Linked DNA regions of Homo sapiens: region 1 is linked to region 2. Evidence: promoter capture Hi-C in 16 types of primary human blood cells and fetal thymus (Javierre and others, 2016). All regions are on one chromosome and are shown on one strand. The core of a region is centred on a gene start or on the middle of the fragment in contact, and the rest is flanking DNA. Distances in the headings are between cores, read along the strand shown.

What was found. The method cuts DNA at HindIII sites, captures the fragments that hold promoters and counts their contacts. A CHiCAGO score of 5 or more calls a contact.
Region 1: a contact is called between a fragment that was not itself captured here and the fragment with the promoter of RETSAT in region 2, in 1 of 17 cell types (monocytes). The highest score is 5.6, in monocytes.

What each region holds. Positions count from the first base shown.
Region 1 is chr2:86,181,729-86,186,461 of GRCh38, forward strand. The region is part of intron 1 of IMMT (inner membrane mitochondrial protein); the gene reads right to left. Among named protein-coding and RNA genes, the nearest start is that of MIR4779, 9.0 kb to the right of the region's middle. The HindIII fragment of the contact is 1,922 bases long and covers 2,110-4,031 here.
Region 2 is chr2:85,353,278-85,358,379 of GRCh38, forward strand. RETSAT (retinol saturase) reads right to left here and starts at 1,251. Exons shown (of 11, transcript NM_017750.4): 1 at 1,059-1,251. The coding sequence starts at 1,230. It overlaps ELMOD3 (ELMO domain containing 3), which reads left to right and starts at 1,492. Exons shown (of 14, transcript NM_001135022.2): 1 at 1,492-1,552; 2 at 1,799-1,893; 3 at 2,278-2,321; 4 at 3,690-3,975. The coding sequence starts at 3,922. RefSeq lists enhancers at 1,253-1,754, 1,319-1,718, 1,755-2,254, 1,889-1,948. The HindIII fragment of the contact is 19,367 bases long and covers 1-5,102 here.

The DNA of each region.
Region 1 (4,733 bases), core at 1,821-4,320, 830 kb after region 2:
CTTAGTTTAGACATCTGAAAAATCACCCACAAAGTCTAGCTAAAAACATGGCGTTACAGGATACACACTCAAGGGACAGATCTAACCTCAGCTAACTGATCCAGAAAACCAGGTTTCTCATCTCTAAGCTAACTATGCAGCTGGTCAACTCCTAGAGGCATTCATTTAAAAGCTGATTTTTGGTTTATCTTAGCATATTGTTAGTCTAAAAGCCAACCATTTTAAGAAAAACATTTTAATTAATGTTGTAAATGTTCAAGTACACCTGTCCCCATATAACTAGTCTATCCTTACATAAAAACAAATGATCAGGGCTATATGGCTTGTGATTGGTTTTAATAAGAGTAAAATACACCTAAATATTTCTTAATAATAAATATGTGGATCTCCTAAATTAAGCAAATGAACAAGCATCTAAATACTATTGGGGAAGGTTTTCATAAACTTTAAACCATTCATACCTATTAATTTGAAAATTTACACTTATCAAATCCATAAAAGTATCTTTTTAAAAAATACTAGGAAAAATCAAACTGCAACAAGAGGAAAAATGCTTTTTCTAGGTTCTTTAATGAAATTGTATTTAACGAATATCAGAATAACACAAACTTCCTTTTAAAAGTATCTATAGTTTTAGGAAAATCTATCACATGATCATAGGACACATGAAATTACTCTAGTTATAATTTACACTCTACTGGCCAAAGCCTAGAGGTAAACAGCTAACTAATGCAGTCATACATTTTGAAAAACAAAAAAACAAATCAGATGTTTTAAAATATGTAAAGCAGATACAACTGGTATTAAAAAGTATTTCAATTATTGACATGGTGGCTCATGCCTGTAATCCCAGCACTTTGGGAGGCTGGCGAGGGTGAGCGGCGCAGGCGGGGATTGCTTGAGCCCAGGACGTCAGAACCAGCCTTGGCAACATGGCAAAACTCCATCTCTACTACAAATACAAAAATTAGCCAGGTTTGGTGGCATGTGCCTATAGTCCCAGATACTTGGGAGGCTGAGGCATGAGAATCACTTGAGCTTGAGCCCCGGAGGTGGAGGTTGCAATGAGCCAAGACTGTGTCACTCCACTCCAGCCTGGGCAATAGAATGAGACCCTGTCTCCTCCACTCCCCTTAAAAAAAAAAACAAAAACAAAAACAAAAAATACCAAACAAACAAAAAAAACCCAGTATTTCAATTATTACCTACCCTGTAGAATTCCCAACATTTTTGAACCATTTTTAATAGAAAAGGGTGTTTTCCTTCTATTCTGTAAAGTAGTATGAAATTGTAAACAGAAATGCATCTATTTTTATATGTCAACAATTCCATTTTTGTGACTTAGGGAGAAAATATTAAGAGGCCACTGAAGTTGTATTATATTTAAGGTTGCATTTTTTATCTGTCTAGGTATAAATAGGTATTCAGGTAAAAAGTTAAGGCACTGTCAACAGTGGATAATTAGCTAACTGGAGTATCAAGCAGCAAGCACAATGGATAACTGACTCCAGGAAATCAGGGACAAATTTAATACTAGAGTTTCAGACTACCCAAAGTCACATCAGTTTTTCTTTAAATAATTTTTTTTGTTGTTTGTAGAGACCAGGTCTTGCTATGTTGACCAGGCTGGTCTCGAACTCCTGGTCTCAACCTATTCTCCTGCCACGGCCTCCCAAAGTGTTGGAATTACAGGCATGAACAACCACGCCCAGCATCAGTATTTTTAAATGTTTCTTTATCTACCTTCTATTTTCTTTTATCTTGACTCTCCATCCTCCCTTTGACAGAATGTGTTTTGACTATAAGTTAAAAGCTCCTAATACTAAATAAATTTAAAATCTGAGGTTTTAAATAATAATTTTAAAAGTTTAAATATGCATAGAGTAAAATCTTCCTCATACTTCTTTCCCCAGCCACCCCATGCTTGCCATAGGCAACTGACACTGTCAGTTTCTTATTTATCCAGAGACATTTTATGTATATTTATTCAAATGTGCATATTCTCCTGACTTTCCCCACCTTTACACAAATGATACCATAATATACACGCAATTCTCTATTAAAGTTCAAGGATATATATTTTAAATCACTGTATATCAGTACGTGAAAAGCTTCCCAAGGGATTTCATGATTTGGTATTCCATTGTTACTTAATGTTTAATTGTTAACCAGCCCCTATTGAGGGACACTGAGGTTTTTTCTAAATTTTTGTTAAAATAAATAATGCTACCTGAGTAACACTGTATACACAATTTTGGGTCTATTCTTAAAAGTAAAATTTGCCACGTTGATTAATACTGCCAAATTAGCCAAACTGCCCTCTAGTAATATGAAAGTATGTTTTCCCACATTTTCTCCAACACACTGTATTGTATCATTTTTTTTTCATCATTGACAATCTGAGGGGTGAAAATACAGAAATAGAGTGTTTCAAGCATATAAATAATTTTTTTTTTAAGAGACTGAGTCTTGCTCTGTTGCCAAGGTTGTGGAATGCAGTGGTATGATCATAGCTCACTGTAACCTCTAACTCCTGGGCTCAAGTGATCCTCCAGCCTCAGCCCCCTGAGTAGCTGGGACTACAGGCACATGCCCACCATACCCAGCTAATATTTTTGTTCTTGTTTTTTATAGAGCCAGGTCTGCTATGTTACCCAAGCTAGTTTTGAACTCATGGCCTCAAGCAATCCTCCTACCTTGGCCTCTCAAAGCACTGAGTAATTTTTATTTACATAATTTATATATTAATACGTTTGTTATTGTTAATATAATAATTATAATTACACTGCTATTTAATACCACTAAGTTTAGGGTGGTCTGTTACACAGCTACAGATAACCAAACATATGTTTATACCTAGAAGAGGGGTGCTACTGCAACAAAACATAAACACGAGGTCATGACTTTGGGACTGGTGTTGGGGGCGGCAGAAGCTGAAGAACCTTGAAGAGACTGTGAGCAGAAGCCTAATGGCCTTCCAGAGCCTGTTGGTGAGGGCTTAAAGAAAAGCAAAAAAAAAAAAAAATTTTGGAACCTGGAGGAAAAGATATTCTTGTTATGTAGTGACAGAAGTTTATCAAAACTGTCATCTGTAATGACAGACATGGAAAATAGAAAATTAAGTATAGCTGTAGCTACACCTAATGAACTGACGTACTTGGCTAAAGAGTTCCAAGTAGGCCAGGCGCGATGGCTTACGCCTGTAATCCCAGCACTTTGGGAGGCCGAAGCGGGCGGATCACAAGGTCAGGAGATTGAGACCATCCTGCTGAACATGGTGAAACCCCGTCTCTACTAAAAATACAGAAAATTAGCCGGGCGTGGCAGTGTGCGCCTGTAGTCCCAGCTACTCGGGAGGCTGAGGCAGCATGAACCCGGGAGGCAGAGCTTGCAGTGAGCCGAGATTGCGCCAGCCTGGGTGACAGAGCCAGACTCTGTCTTAAAAAAAAAAAAACAAAAGAGTTCCAAGTATAGTGTTCATCACAAGCGCTAACTGGTTTCTTTTAGCTGAGTATGATAAGGACAGAGATAAGCATTAAAAAACAAAACAAAAACCTGTTTTGCTTTCAAGCAAAATTTAAAGGAAATATAAAAGAGTCAGGATTTGGTGGGTTCAAAAATAAAACTGCTTATTGTTTTCAAATAGATTCTCAAATAGAGAAGGGCTTCAAGCCAAAGATCAAATCTAGTGTGTGACCAAAAGATACTTTGAGATCTCAAAAAGATCTAAGGAGGTGCCCCTCAGAGAGTCTTTTTACCTTGAGGAAAAGGCCCTCTAAGAATCATAAGGATGTGTTTCCCAGATTCTATTGAATCAATAAGGTTACTCAGAACATTAAAGGTGTTACCTACAGCAGCCTCACAGGAAGCCCAAAATGGAGAAGGGCTTATCTTGATAAGATGTGTATCATGCATCTAATGAAGAAAATCCCATTAAGATTCACAGGAAACCCACAAACTTGTTGAGAATTGTGTCAATAAAAAACATGCTGGCTTATATTTAAAGTGAAAAAGAGGACAAAATGAAAAGAAGCTTCTAGACAAACTTCTACAGACAGGAAGTAGGCTGTGAAACAATTCAGCTGTAACAGACAACATATTCTGGAAACGGAAGAATAATTCAAGTGTAAAACCAGGAGCCCAAAGGGTAGAACCAAGAGCTGAGGAGAATCATTCCCAAGCAGTAGGACTGAGCTCTCATCAAGGAATTAGAAACATAGGGCCAGCTGAATTTTACACTTGTTATGGAATGGTGACTGCTGTGTGCCTCTTAGTTTCTGCCTTTTTGAATAGGAGTGTCTAGAGTGATTATCCTGTGTCTGTCATACCACCATATGCTGAATGTATGGGGAGCAGATAATTTGTCTCTTTAGTTTACAGGGCTTTAGATCACCAAAAAAAGTGTTTAAGAAGCTATACCCTAGGGACCACATTCAAGATGTCTTATCCATAGTAGGATCTGATTCAGATGACAAGATCTTGTTCCTAATGCTGATGCTTTGATGGCATTAGACTCTGGAGAGTCTTGGAGAAGGTTGTGAGTGGGAGGGATGTGCATGTGGGAGGGATGTCAGTTGGGTCCAGAAGGCTGAGGATAATATCCAAAATTGACTGCAACAATACTTCCTATACCACATGCTGTTCCAGAAACGTGCCCCTCTCCCAACAATAATAAGTTTTATGTACACTTCCCTTAAACAAGGGCAGGCCTTTGTTACTAATTCACTAATAGA
Region 2 (5,102 bases), core at 1-2,500:
CCCTGTCTCTACTAAAAATACAAAAATTAGCTGGGCATGCCCACTACTCGGGAGGCTGAGGCAGGATAATCACTTGAACCCAGGAGGCGGAAGTTGCGGTGAGCGGAGATCGCGCCACTGCACTCTAGCATGGACAATAGAGCGAGACTCTGTTTCAATAAATAAATAAATAATGCCAGTTGCAACTCACTAAATTGATTTCATAGCCCACTAATAGATCACAATCCGGTTTGAAAAGCAGTTAAGCTAGTCATCTCATTTTTAGACCAGCCCAGGTAGGTGCTAATGGTTATGCAGCAAATTAGTGACAGAGTCCAAGCTAAAACTCAGTTCTCAGAAGTCCAGATGATTAGTCCTTCCACTTAGAACAGTACTGTCTCCGATTGTGTAGCAAGATATGACACGGAGAATTCTAAAATTTACAAGTGAGAGGGACTCCGTAGATCAAACAGGTGATCCATTATTTTTTAAAGCAGCAGAACTCTTTAAACTCTAGAAGCAACCACAAAATATGTTTTAAAGATGAGAGTGGAGAGCAGGCTCTGAGCCTGAGGCGCCTTGTTGAACCTCTGCCAATGTTTCAGAACTAGGGTTCAATCCTTACGATTTGGGACCATGCAAAGCCTGTTAAATCACCGGACGGGCAAAACGCAATTTCCTACGCATTTCTGTGCTGCTCCCCCACACCCCTGAGCTCGCATGGGAGGGTAGGTGAAAAAGTTAAGGTCCTGGAACCAAGTGGAGGAATGAGTCACGGGGATTATCAGTTCCACGAGCCACGGGGATTACAAGTGGCAGGGCGGGTGCCAACACCTTGCAAACCAAGGACAATGACCACACCCTTGGGACTACTATTCCCGGGGCCTACTAGGGCAAAGGCTATCGACAGTGTTGCACACTAAAGCGGGGCTCCTCCACGTGCAAGGAAGCCCTCCTAGTACTTTACATATGGGGAAACTAAGGCCCACGTCTGGTAGCGGCTGCCTTGGCAAAATGAGAACCCAAATCTGTGAGAAAGCCTCGAGTGCAGCCCCGGACCCCAGGGTCCCTCCTGCTACCTTGTTTGAGAACCTTCTTCCTGGCCTCCTTGTCAGTTACCAGGGGCGCTGGGGGCCGTTTGACATCTTCGGAGAAAGGATTCGGGGAGCTGCCAGAGAATAGTCCCAAGTAAACTTTGCAGAGGACGGCCAGCAGCAGCACAGCCAGGAGCAGCACCAGCGGAAGCCACATCACGCCGGCGTCGGGTCGGGTAAATGGGACAGCTCCGACTGCGCTCAGCCTCTAGGACTGTGGCTCCGCCCGGGCTAGTTCGCTCTCCAGTCAGGAGGCGGAGGCAGCTTTGAGCACTGATTAACCAGCCAGCCAGCGAAGAGCCAACTCTCAGGTGATGATTGACCCTCCCGGCTCTCCGTACTTCTTTTGGGTTTCCATTGCCTACTGGGAAATGTAGTTCTCGGGGCCAGGGGAGCCGGCACGGAAGCGGCTGTGCGCATGAGCAGATGAGGCCTAGCCGAGGCGGCGGGACCCCCAAGTTTGGAAAGCTCTTTTAACGGTGAGAACGCGTTAACACTTGCCAAGGGGAGTGGTTGGTGCCTGTGCGGAGCTAGCAGCCGGCCTGAGGAGGGAGGGAGAATGTGATCCGGTGGAAATTATCACTATGGGGCGAGACAAGGCCGAGAGTTGTAAGACTGAAAGAGAATCCCGACTGGGAGACAGGAGTCCTGAGTTCTGGTCCTGGCTCTGCCCTGGACTCGCTGCCTTGAGGTGTTAAATTGCTTTCCTCGTCTTACGCCTCCAGGCTATGCGAAAGTTCTGTCCAAAGGCTGCTCACAGCCCCTGTCTGACTGGTTGTCATGATGAATTGAGCTCTCTGTTACCTGCGCATCACAACCGGTGAGCGTCTGTCTCTGTGCCCCTCAAAGTGGCCCATAGTTTTGTCCTGGGGGCCCGCCTGGGACGGAGTCCTCTATGGCGGGTCCCTAATGACACCCCATCCGTGGGGAACCTGGGGGACGGGGAGCCGCCCATGGACAAGCATGGTGAAAGGATCAGCTAAGGGCCCATCTAATTTAAATTCCTATGCAGAGAATCTAACCTCCAGCAAGCAGTTGAAGAATCATACCCCCTCCTTGCCTAAAGAGGGTGCATAATGAATACTTGATTGGAGAAGGATCCATTTTTACAGGAAGGCCGTTTCCTTAGGTCCAACTATCAGGAATTTGCCTTTGAGTACTTCCTTGTTTAATGGAATTGTTGCTCTTTTCTTCTCTGCTACAGATAGTAACTGTCCCTACTGAAGGCCCCAGGAGTGCTCCAGCCAGGTGTGGAAAGCTGGTCACGATTCTATGCTACTTGGTTCATTTTCTACACAGCAACAGAAGAGCCCTCCTGAGATTGCTATTACCATACCCGCCTGTCACCTTGCCAAGGCTGGCCAATGTGTGTTTTGTCATAGGCTGTCATGGAGGCCATGATGGAGGAAAAGGAAAGGGGAGGCAGATGTTGAGGCCCCAGAGGCCACAGTGAGAGCAGTTTAGTTCCTGGGGTGCCAGGACTAAGGGGGCATTGCCCTGTCCCCCGGATTACAGTGAGCCACATGTCAAGCCCAAGAGCCAGGAGGTATTCTTCCTCTCAGTGTTAATAATCAAAGCATCCTGACACCAGCAGCCAGTTTTTATGGCATCCTGGAGGGCTGACCTCATAGAGAGGCTACCCTCCTTCCTTAGTCACCCAAAGTTGTGAACTATGATTGTCAGTTGTGTGTGGGCCATCTGCCCACTTAGGATGCAATTTTTGATGTGACAGACATTCCGGATGTCCAATTCCCCTGTGATGAGGTATGAGCCTTGTCCAGCCCTTTTCCTGAGGGAAGCAATGTCAGATGAAAGACTTAGAATTGCCCAAACTGGCTAGCCAGCTGCCACATGCACAGTATTGCTGATAACTGAGAAAGGTTAGAACATCGTGTTGCATTTTGAATTTCTACCATTGTTGGAACCAGGTCTAGTATTATAAGCCCCTGACCCAGCCTGTGTGTGAGGCCTAAACAAAGCCTGAGCACTTCAGCTAAGACCACCCACCAAGGTGACACCTTTAGCCTCACGCCTTTGATAAGCTGGCCCAGGTCCCAGTAACTCCATTGTCAGAAACAGACCCCATCCCTTCTAGTGGTGCTGCTGCCTTTTGGACACAGAATCCAGCTCACAGTCCCCTGTGTGGTCCCCTTTTGGCCATCCTGTGGCTTGGGTAGTAAGAGGTAAGCATTTGGCTGAGGCAAGTTGTTCATTCAGAATAAATTCACAGCTGCTTAAATTTTGTCAACAGGCCGAGCGTGTTGGCTCATGCCTGTAATCCCAGCACTTTGGAAGGCCGAGGCAGGCGGATCACGAGGTCAGGAGTTCAAGACCAGCCTAACCAACATAGTGAAACCCCATCTCTACTAAAAATACAAAAATTAGCAGGGTGTGGTGGCGCACGCCTGTAATTCCAGCTACTCGGGAGACTGGGACAGGAGAATCGCTTGAACCCGGGAGGCGGAGGTTGCAGTGAGCCGAGATCGCACGGCTGCACTCCAGCCTGGGCAACAGGGCAAGACTCCAACTCAAAAAAAAAAAAAAATTGTCAACAGAGGCATAACTGAATGGTGAAACCAGTTTTCTTTTTCAATTTCTTTTTTTTCTTTTGTGCAGAGCTGAGGCTTCGAAGACCTCAGAGGACTTCTCTCAGCACTCACAGAAACCTCCTACACCCTCGGATGGCACAAAGGGACTGTTTTCTTACTCTTAGTCTGAGTGACTGCCAAGGAAGGCAAAGGTAGAGCAACTGGATCTCTGGCTCTCCACATAGCTTCTGATCTCAGACCTTACTAAAATGCTTTCTGGGCCCAAGGACAAAGCTCACATGAACAAATGATTTTGAGTCATGAATGAAAAATCTTGCTCTTTCCATAGTAAAGAAGAATTAAGAGATGGACAGGTAAGCATGCACTCTTATTTGGGAAAGGTGGTGTTGGTTTGAGATATATCATTAAGTATAGTAAGAATATATTAAGAGAATATTTGGAAAAATTTAGAAACCCTCATTATAGTTCTCTTTGTTCTGTAAGAAGGAGCTTCTATTCACCTCAGGGTCAATTGCTTTTCCTAATAGCTTGTTTTGTAAGTGAGTTATGAGATTTTTGTTTTCTTTTTGCTTGGGTAGTGGGGAGAATTTCATTGAGGAATCACCCAAGAAATCTGTATTTCATTGATTTGGATCATTACCTTACTAGCCTCTTCCCTGTGAAACGCTTGCTTTGGCCTGATCATCCTCAGGACTCAGTTCAATGTGATATGTCTTTGTATGAGCCGGGCAGCTAACCCTACATGCCTTACCTTTCACACTACTTTGCCCACCCAAAAATGGTCTTAAATGGAGGCTGTGGGATTCAGTGGCCAGACTGGGACAAAGCCTTTGCTTTGGGTCTCCAGAAAGATTTTCTTCACTGTAGTAATATGCGAACTGTTCCAAAGAGGGAAGTCTTTGGACACTGGAGGGGACTGAATTGGAGAAGGAAAGGAAGGATGAAATGAATCTCAGGTACACAGATGCCTGCAGGAAGTTGTTCAGCACAATGAATCACCAAATATTTTAGAGATAAAATTTCAACAAAAATTTGAGAAATATATTTTGTGCTTAGTACTGTGCCAATGGTTGTGAAACATATAAAAGAAATATAAGAGCCTGGAGGCAGTGGCTCACGCCTGTAATCCCAACACTTTGGGAGGCTGAGGTGGGCAGATCACTTGAGGTCGGGAGTTGGAGACCAGCCTGGCTAACATGATGAAACCCTGTCTTTACTAAAAATACAAAATTATCTGGGCATGGTGGTGCATGCCTGTAATCCCAGCTACTCAGGAAGCTGAGGCAAGAGAATCGCTTGAACCCAGGAGGCGGAGGTTGCAGTGAGCTGGGATCACACCATTGCACTCCAGCCTGGGTGACCAAGTGAGACTCTGTCTCCAAAAAAAAAAAAAAAAAAAATGAAAAAAGAAATATAAGAGAAGGTCCTTATGCAGGCCTTTTGCAGAGGAACTTTTGCTGCATACAAGGGTTACTGGACT